Regions from separate parts of the Homo sapiens genome. Here region 1 is linked to region 2. Evidence: promoter capture Hi-C in human tissues and cell types (Jung and others, 2019). All regions are on one chromosome and are shown on one strand. The core of a region is centred on a gene start or on the middle of the fragment in contact, and the rest is flanking DNA. Distances in the headings are between cores, read along the strand shown.

Region 1 (5,037 bases), core at 582-3,081, 160 kb after region 2:
CATTGCTTTACAGTGTGAAAGCCCCAAGCCTTGGTGGCTTCTACATGGTATTGGGCCTGCAGGTGCACAGAAGTCAAAAACTGAGGTTTGGGAACTCCACCTAGACTTCAGAGGATGTATGGAAATGCATGGATGTCTAGGCAGAAGTTTGCTGCAGGAGTGGAGCCCTCACGGAGAACCTCTGCTAGGGCAGTGCAGAAGGGAAATGTGGGGTCAGAGCCCCCCCAAAGAGTCCCCACTGGGGCACTGTCTAGTGCAGCTATGAGAAGAGGGCCACAGTCCTACAGACCCCCAAATGGTAGATCCACTGACTGTTTGCACCACACCCCTGGAAAAGCCACAGATACTCAACATCAGCCTGTGAAAGCAGTCGGGAGGGAGGCTGTACCCTGCAAAGCCACAGAGGTGGAGCTGACCAAGGCCATGGGAGCCCACCTCTTGTATCAGTGTGACCTGAATGTGAGACATGGAGTCAAAGGATATCATTTTGGAGTTTCAAGATTTGATGGCCCCACCGGATTTTAGAATTGCATGGGGCCTATAGCCCCTTCATTTTGGCCAATTTCTCCCATTTGGAAGGGGCATATTTACCCAATGCCTGTACCCTCATTGTATCTAGGAAGTAACTAACTTGCTTTTGATTTTACAGACACATAGGCGGAGGAGGGGGGTTGTCTTGTCTCAGATGAGACTTTGGACTTGGACTTTTGAGTTAATGCTGGAATGAATTAATACTTTGGGGGACCGTTGAGAAGGCATGATTGGTTTTGAAATATGAAAGGGACATGAGATTTGGGAGAGGCTGGGGCAGAATGATATGGTTAAGCTTTGTTTCCCCACCCAAATCTCATCTTGAAATTAATGCCTATAATCCCCACGTGTCAAGGCAGAGATGAGGTGGAGGTAATTCGATCATGGGGGCAGTTTCCCCCATGCTGTTCTCATGATAGGGAGTGAGTTCTCATAAAATCTGATGGTTTTATAAGGGGCTGTTCCCCTTTCACTTGGAACTTCTTACTGCTGCCTTGTGAAGAAGGTGCCTTGCTTCCCCTTTGCCTTCTGCCATGATTGTTACGTTTCCTGAGGCCTCGCCAGCCATGCTGAACTGTGAGTCAATTAAAACTCTTTCCTTTATAAATTACCCAGTCTCAGGCAGTTCTTTATAGCAGTATGAAAACAGACAAATACACTAGGGACGGGGAACACAACCCACGAACCACCACCTTTCACACTGCCTATCTGCCAAAATAGGTGAGGACAGAAACATTCCCCAAACCTTTGCTCCTGCTCCCTGAAAGCAAACATCCATGGCTGCACTCACAAGAGGCTCCCTAAGCCGATACTAGGGGTGGTGAGACCAGGAGTGCAAACTTTGTCCTGGGCCCAGCCTCCTGAGAGCCAAGCATGGCCCACGGAGGCTAGGAGTGAGGTACAGATCATTGTTGACTGCCCCCAGAGAAGGACCAGGAATCTTACAGACTATGATCCTGTGTGAAGTTCCCACCTTCTAAGGGCTTTCAGCTTACAAGCTCTAAAACACCATAGCCCTTTGATCCTGGCTCGCACCAAGAAAAAACCTTGGCAGAGCTTCCAGCTTTGTACTAAACAAAGAAAACTGCAGTATGAGAAGCTAGGAATAATGAGACCAGCATGTTTGTAGTCACAGACACCTCACACTTGCACGCAACATGCACACAGACACACGTGCACACATGTCCCTGACTGAACAATAAGTCCACAGATCCATGCCTCTAAGGGATGTGTGTGCACAAGCAAGCACTCACTCATGCACAGGAGCAGATACACACAGGAGTGCACACAAACACACCCCCACCCTTGCATGCACGGCACACACACACATACACACACAGGCATGCATGCCACACACACATGCATGGCACAGACCACACAAGGAGGTGTTCCTAATCAAAGAGTACGTCACCTAGATCTGCACTTCTAAGTATGCGATCGAAGTCACCATTATTTCAAAAACTCATTCACAGGTGATTCTGAATCATAGCCAGATTTGGTCCAGAGAATATTACAAAGTCGATTCAAGCTCTAACAGTATAATTTAAATCAATGTAAAATGTCTAGTGTATAATGTCTTGTGAGTATCCTCACATACCTAACTTTGTTTTGAGAAGGAGTCTCACTCTGTTGCCCAGGCTGGAGTGCAATGGCATGACCTCAGCTCACTGCAACCTCCACCCCCCGGGTTCAAGGGAGTCTCCTGTCTCAGCCTCCCGAGTAGCTGGGACTACAGCCATGCACCACCACTTAGCTATTTGTTTTTTTATTTTTAGTAGAGATGGGGTTTCACCATGTTGGCCAGGCTGGTGTCGAACTCCTGACGTCAAGCGATCTGCCCACCTCGGCCCCCAAAGTGCTGGGATTACTGGCATGAGCCACATGCCCAGCCCTAACTTTGTAATAGTAAAAATGCAAGGCTAGTCTCATGCAGCAGCAGCATTCAAGTGCAGACGATCATTTTTGTTTTTCTATTTTTGGCCATTACATCCTAAAACCTTCCTTGAAAGCACCAATTTTCCTCTAAAGCAAACAAACAAACAAACAAACAAACTACATTACAGCATAAAACCAAAGAATTCCAGGGAAAGAATATTTTCTAAAATCACATTCCAATCATTGACCTCAAATAATCCTCTGTGAATCCACAGAGCAAGTCACTATTCTATTAAAGCAGTCCAATAAGTGAATTAATTTGTCTGCATTTTCTGAAGGCTGCAGAAGTGCCTCCTAACCCAGGGTCTGCCTCTGCGGATTCAGGCCTTCGTCTATATCGGTTCTTGTTCTCCATGCCCAAGTGCAGCTGAGCAGAACCACTGTGTGTCCTCTCTACAACAAGAGGCATCTTTCTCAGAAGGGACACGGGGCTCCAGAGTAGAGATCACACCACCAGTTTCTCACTCTCTTCCTTTCACACTTACTAGAGAGGTGGGCTTTTGTTAAAATAGTATGCAGACTGAATACAAGAAGCAAAAAGAGGAAAAAAGGCCAAAAAAAGTTTATTATATTTTGAAATATTTCATAACTTTAAAATTAGTTTTTAAATAGTAAAAAGTTCTTTCAGAATGAAGAGAAAAGAAACACGCACTGCAGTCCCTCAGCTGTGCGGTCTCAACTTTTTTTTTTTTTTTTTTTTTTGAGACAGAGTTTTGCTCTTGTTGCCCAGGCTGGAGTGCAATGGCGTGATCTTGGCTCACCACAACCTCTGCTTCCTGGGTTCAAGCGATTCTACTGCCTCAGCCTCTTGACTAGCTAGGGTTACAGGCATGCGCCACCATGCCCAGCTAACTTTTTGTATTTTTAGTAGAGATGGGGTTTCTCCATGTTGGTCAGGCTGGTCTCGAACTCCCAACCTCAGGTGATCCGCCTGCCTTGGCCTCCCAAAGTGCTGGGATTACAGGCATAAGCCACCGTACCTGGCTGCAATCTCGACTTTTTATAGCTCAGTTACCTACTTCCTCAAAAGACTCACTTATGCCTATATGCAGCTGTGTGGCCTTTGCTCTGAATTAAAATAACATATAATTCTTAAAGGAATGGTGTTAAACTGGAACCTCTTCTTAGAACTACAGTCTGCCTTACCCCAGTCCCCATTCCTAGCCCAACCTAACAAACGCTCATCCATTACTTGGCATATTATTCTGAAATGTTATGTTAAACAAAACAAAGAAGAGGACAAAGTAAGTCTTCAAAAAAAAAATACACAGGCAAAAAAAAAAAAACTGTACGGGCAGACATTGTATGATTTTCATATATTACCCAAAAAATATAGCTTTGAAAATGTTGAGCCCAAGATTAAATAAGTCAGTATAATCCCTACCACCTTTAATTTTCATTGCTTGCAAACATAGACAAGGCAAAATTTTCCAACCATTTTAAGCATGTGCAAACAGACATGCTTACTAAGTCTCAATAGTCTACAGAAGATAAAAAGGTATAGAAAGGAAACTCTCATGTGACCTGTTCCCGTTACACTACAGATCCAGTGTCCAGAGAGGCAGGGTGGGGCCTTGGAGCACAGTGGGAGGGCGCGGCGTCTGGCCATCCTGTAGGGAGAGGAGGCCCCGTAGAGCCGGTCTGGCTGGCTGAGCCTGGACTGAGACCAGGCACGAGGTCGGTGCCCAGGGAGGCAAAGGATGGAGGAGCAACTCCCAAGAGCTAAGAGCCCCGGGGCAGCTGATGCTGGCCCAAAGCCTGCGGTGTTGGCCAGACCCCAAGGGAAGAGCCAGAGGCCGGTGCCCAGAAGAGGAGGCCTGGTGACAGAAGGAGGCAAAACCTGAGGCATGATCAGCTTGAAGAAGGCTAAGTACAAGGCCCGTGAGAAGTAAGATTATGAACTCAGTGAACAGGCACATCCTGCGTGGCATGTGAAAGAATTCGGAACAGCGGGAAAAATTAAACCACGGAAGCAAATTTCAAGTCAACAGAAACAAGAACTTTCTAAGAACGAGAGCAGTTCAACAATGAAAAGGGTTGCTTTACTGACTGCTGGACTGCTCATACAAGAACATTCTACAGCAGGGAGCTGGGCTGAACTTCTATAAACATTCCTCACTCCCCAAATCCTTCCCATCCCTGAATGTGGATAGTGAGAGGGTAGACATCACGAGATACGGCATCATTCGAATCCACCCGGTGCCCGAGTCTCAAGTAGCAAGTTTTATCTAAATGTATTCAGTTCCTGGGTTTAATTAATCAGTTTGAACAGAATACTTGTACTGACTGAGCAAAGTTCAAGAAGGCAGAATAGGAACATTACATCTCATCAAGGCTGGTTACGGTGGCTCATGACTACAATCCCGACACTGGGAGGCTGAGGCAGTTCAGACCAGGCCAGGCAACACATCAAGACTGTTTCTACACACACTCACAAAAGCAACACAAAAAAACAAACAAAAATCCCAAATCCCATTTAGCCACTGAAATGTGTTTTGTAAGTCTATGATGAAATAAGATAAATTAGTTTCTGTCCATTTGTGGGTTTTGGAAAAGCACAACCTAAAAGAA
Region 2 (5,106 bases), core at 2,494-4,993:
TGGAACCCTGCTGTTGGAAGGAAACAAGTTCTTCAACCATTCATCCATCACAGCTGAGTCAGAAGCGTTGTGTCATCCTGTACCACCCGACCTGCCTACCTCAGGCCCTACCCACGGGGAGCTTCCATCCTGCTGGTTGTCCTGAGGCTCTATGACCCACAGCAGGAAGACACTGCAGCCTGGTCATGCCCTTCCCATCCTCTGACATCATCTTCCAGGAGTAGGGGCCCGAGCTTCCACAGCCCACCTGCTCCCACCTACTGCCACCTTCCTGCCACCACACACTGTCAGGCCTTCATCCTGTCCCCACGCCCTTCCTCAGGTCACAGGTCTTCCTGCATTCCCCCAAGCCACTTGCCTGGCCTCTCTGGGCTCTGCTTTTCCAGCACTGTCCTCCCCATCTGATGCCCCTGCCAGGGTATTCTCCCCATGGTGTGACCCGGGGGGCACTCAGGCAAGTGGCCTGGCCACACTGGACCTGAGCACTAGATAGGTTGCCTGACTCCACTCAGAGGCAGAACCTGCCCCACGGGGCAATTGTGGACTGAGCTCCAGCTGGGCATGGCTAGACCCTGCTCTTCCTTCTAGCCAGTGACCCTCAATGGGCCCTGATGTGAGCAGAGGCAGTGGAGCTAGCCCCATCTCCTTTCCTCCCTTCTTTCATGAGCATTTGTTGAATGCCTTTTGTTGCCAAGACTGTTGAGCATGACCATTATGCCCATCTCACAGATGAGCAAACTGAAACCATGGTCCTGTTGCTTGCTGAGGCCCAGCTCCTGGAACTGCATCTGCATGGAGCAGGTGTGTGCCTGCACGTGCCTACTGGCTGGGTAGGCTGGAGCATAGCCTGGACTTGGGAGAAACTTTTTTCACCAAAGGGGCTCCCTGGCATTGTGGAAGCTAAGGTGATAGCTGTGGGTAGAGGTCACTGTCTCCACTCTGAGGCCTTGAGAAAGTTACTTAAAGTTGAAAAATCTCTGGGCAAGACCTCAATGTACTCATCTGTTCTAAACATCGAAGACAAATGCTGCCCCGTAATCCCAGCACTTTGGGAGGCTGAGGTGGTTGGATCACTTGAGGTCAGGAGTCCGATACCAGCCCGGCCAACATGGTGAAACCTCATCTCTACTAAAAATACAAAATTAGCTGGGCGTGGTGGTGGGCGCCTGTAATCCCAGCTACTCAGGAGGCTGAGGCAGGAGAATTGCTTGATCCTGGGAGGCAGAGGTTGCAGTGAGCTGAGCTGAGATCCCGTCACTGCACTCCAGCCTGGGCAACAAAGTGAAACTCCATCTCAAAAAAACAAAAACAAAAGCAGAAAACAAAAAACAAACCTCCAAAAGACAAATGCTGGCATCATGACCCTGGATCATGCAGCCTCAGGACACCCAGTAAAGCAGACTACAGTATTTATACTCCCCGTCTTAGCAGCAGGGAGATGGAAGCTCAGAGATATCCAGTGACCTGCCAAAGGGCATATAGCCAGTGCTGTGAAGTCCTGACTTCCAAGGTCTGTCCAAGGATCCCTCAGGCTCCATCTGCCAGGATCCCAGGAGCTGCTCCTGAGCCCAGCCTGAGATTCCTTGCAGAGGAAACTGTGACCTGTCCACTACTGACTTAGCTGTGTACCCTAATGGTCATGGGTTGGCAGAGAGAATGAGCTCTCCACCATGGGAGGTGTGTAAGCAGAGATGCGTGAATTCACCCCAAGGGCTCAGAGAGCACACAGTACTCTCTCAGGGACAGGCTGTCCCCCACTCCCCACAGCCTGGGCTGCTCCCTGCTGATTTGTGGGTGTAGCCATCCTTTCCCACGCATGTGTACAAGTGTGGGTGGGCAGCAGCCATGGGTGCTGATGAACCTTCTCCGATGCTGGCAGGTATTTTGCCCACACACTGCCAGTGTGGCCTGTTGGGAGCAGGAGGAGGCCAGATAGGTGTGTGCTGGTCTCAGAACACGCTTAGCTCTGTCCCATCCTGGTTTTCCCTTGGATAGGCTTGAACACACCCATCATGAACAGGTCTGTGGACTTGGTGCCCTTCCTAGATTGACTGAATCTACAAGGAATTGGCAGCCTTTTAAGGTGGGCAAGTCAGGATGATCAGCCCACTCTGCAGGGCCAGATACTGAGGCTCAGGAAGGACCAGGACTTGCCCAAGTTCACTCAGCTGGTTAGGGGCAAGGTTGGGGGGTCTTTAGCCTCCAAAGGGAAGACAGAAAAGATCCTTTTCCACCCCTGACCTCTACCTGGAAGACTCCTGCCCCAGGAGATGCAACTTAGATCCCTGTCCCTCAGGCCTCTCTGTCCTGCAGAGCTGGCGTCTGCTGTTTGGCCTCCTCCTCGTGTGAGCTCTGGGCTCATGCCAGCGGACTTGAGCCCCGGAATGAATGCCTGTCTCACACGGTAGATTAGATTATATAAATAACAGGCAAGTGCCAAATGCATAGCCCTACACCTAGCACACTATTTAACCACTGGCTCTCTGGGGAGAAAAGTCCTGATTTGAGGTGTTTGCCAATTTCCGCAGTGTAAATACTCCCAGCATTGCTGACTTCAGGCTACAGGGTGGCATTGCTGAACCCAGAGCTGGGAAGGGATGTTCACTGTTGCCCCTCACAAATTAGTTTCAGCCAGTGCCAGTGCCCAGCGGGGCTCCAGGAAGTCCTGCTTCTCTGGGTAACAGTTGGCCTGGCATATTCTTCCCTCTACATTGTGAAGGTGAGATATCGCCTCTGCTGGCTTTTATGCCACATGAGTTATTTTGTGCCAGGGGCTCCAAGGCCTACAGGCCCACAAGCATCTTTTCATCTCTGGAAGTGTGTGTGTATCTGATGGGGGTGCCAGCCCAGTGGGATGGGGACTGAGATGAGAATACTCTGGTATCTCCCTTGTGCCTCAGTTTCCTCACCTAGGATCATGGAGGCTGGGGTAAGGGTGAAGTGTTAGCTCAGGGCATTGCCTGGAGCAGGGCTCAGAACTTAGCAGTATGGTTACTGACACAGGTCACCTGCTGCATTAGGGCCAGAGACGCCCAAGAGAGGGCTTGTCCGTGGGGGTCTAGAGGAGGAAGGAGCTAGAGATCATGGAAGACTTCTCGGGAGAGGTGGCATCTGGCAGAGGTGGGAAGGAAGAACACTTTGGGTCAAGGGGCTTCTGGAAGCCTCTCCATATCCCATCCAAGGCATTCCAGCTCAGCTTCGGTCTTGAAAGTTCTGGGATTTAGAGCATATAACTTCTGCCTTTGGCGCCTCAGTTTGCTCTAGACTGTGAAATGGGCATAATGATCACCAGTGCCTCCCTGGGTGATGATGAGGTCCTCATGGTTCCTGGTGGTGAAGTGAGGGCAGGAAAGGACACGCTGAGCCCCACCAGGCTTAGCCCCAGGCTGGGCTCCCGAGGGCGGCGGTACCCCTGGTCCTTTTCTTCCTAGCCTGCCCATTCTGTCCTGGCACAGGGCCTTGAGGTCTAGCGCGCCGGGCTGCGGCGTGCTGAGGCGTTGAGCCTGCTGCCTCCTCTCAGGAAGAAACGGGGTCCTCCGCAGCTGACAGCCCTGCGGGGCGTTCCAAAGAACTTCAGAGGACAGGAGCGCTACCTCGAGCAAAGAACCGCGGGTGGGAGCCCAGGTAGCCGGCCCGCAGGTGGCCGCGCGCGCCTGCCAGTCAGCCAGCCCGTCCGCAGCCAGGTGGGCGTGCCAGGCCCAGCCCCCTGCGCCGGTCCGGGGCGGGGCGAACGGAGCCCCGCCCTCCCCGCGCGCCGGGTCGGAGCCGGTGCGGGAGCGGAGCCGCGCGAAGCCGGCAGGAGCACGCGGGAGCGCGGCCCCGCAGTGGCCCGGCCCGAGAGAGCAGCGCGCAGGAGCTGGAGCGGCGCCACGGCCCCCACCCCAGCGCGGACCTCGCCCGGAACTCGGACCCCGTCCTCGAAGCGTGATCTCTCCCGCCTCGCACGCCCTGGCCGCCGGGCCGCGGGCATGGACGGCGTCCGCTCGCCCTGTGAGTGCCGAGCCTCCCCTCAACGCCGCTCGCCGCCTTTGTGTGCGCGCCGCGGCGCTGCAGCCCCCTCCCCGCGCGCCCCTCCCGCGCCCCGGGCCCGCGTCCTTTGTGGAGCCGCCGCCGGGCCACTGCCTTCCTCCCACCCCCGGGCTTCCCTATCCCCTTTACAGCTGCCTCCGGGACAGCCTAGCAGAACCCTCCTGGGCCAGGGCTGGGCAGGGCGCGAGATCCCTCTGCCGGCCTCCGGGGCCCTCAGGGACACCCTAGCAGGTCCTCTCTCCCAGGGTTCCAGGGACACCACAGGCCCGTCCCTCTCCGCAGCCTGGGGCTGAGCAGGGCACGGACCCCTCCTCCCCAACCCAAGCCTCTGGTCCCGTCTGCAGCCCCCCTTTCCCAGGGCCCCCAGAGACGGCCCCCGCAGGCTCTCTCCGCGGCCGGGGCTGGGCAGGTTGCGGGCTTAGGGCGGCGTTGTCTCATCCGGCGGCCTGGGCAGGTGCGGCAGGGCCGGCGCTCACGCGGGCCTGTGTGTCCTTGGCCCACAGAGATGGACGGCGATGGCGGCCGCCGAGACGTCCCCGGCACGCTGATGGAGCCCGGGCGCGGCGCGGGGCCCGCGGGCATGGCGGAGCCTCGGGCGAAGGCGGCGCGGCCGGGGCCCCAGCGCTTTCTGCGGCGCAGCGTGGTAGAGTCGGACCAGGAGGAGCCGCCGGGCTTGGAGGCAGCCGAGGCGCCGGGCCCGCAGCCCCCGCAGCCCCTGCAGCGCCGGGTGCTTCTGCTCTGCAAGACGCGCCGCCTCATCGCGGAGCGCGCCCGCGGACGCCCCGCCGCCCCCGCGCCCGCAGCGCTGGTAGCGCAGCCGGGAGCCCCCGGAGCCCCCGCGGACGCCGGCCCCGAGCCCGTGGGCACGCAGGAGCCCGGCCCGGACCCCATCGCAGCCGCTGTCGAAACCGCGCCTGCCCCCGACGGCGGCCCCAGGGAGGAGGCGGCGGCGACCGTGAGGAAGGAGGATGAGGGGGCGGCCGAGGCGAAGCCTGAGCCCGGGCGCACTCGCCGGGACGAGCCCGAAGAGGAGGAGGACGACGAGGACGACCTCAAGGCCGTGGCCACCTCTCTGGA

Evidence for each region. Contacts are between HindIII fragments. The study calls those that stand out against the background at their distance.
Region 1: a contact is called between a fragment that was not itself captured here and the fragment with the promoter of WNK2 in region 2, in 2 of the 25 tissues and cell types used here (dorsolateral prefrontal cortex and spleen).

Annotation. Positions count from the first base shown.
Region 1 is chr9:93,338,495-93,343,531 of GRCh38, forward strand. It overlaps the pseudogene FAM120A2P. Among named protein-coding and RNA genes, the nearest start is that of FAM120A, 110 kb to the right of the region's middle. The HindIII fragment of the contact is 9,643 bases long and covers 1-5,037 here.
Region 2 is chr9:93,180,396-93,185,501 of GRCh38, forward strand. It overlaps WNK2 (WNK lysine deficient protein kinase 2), which reads left to right and starts at 3,744. Exons shown (of 30, transcript NM_006648.4): 1 at 3,744-3,990; 2 at 4,533-5,106. The coding sequence starts at 4,535. The HindIII fragment of the contact is 13,924 bases long and covers 1-5,106 here.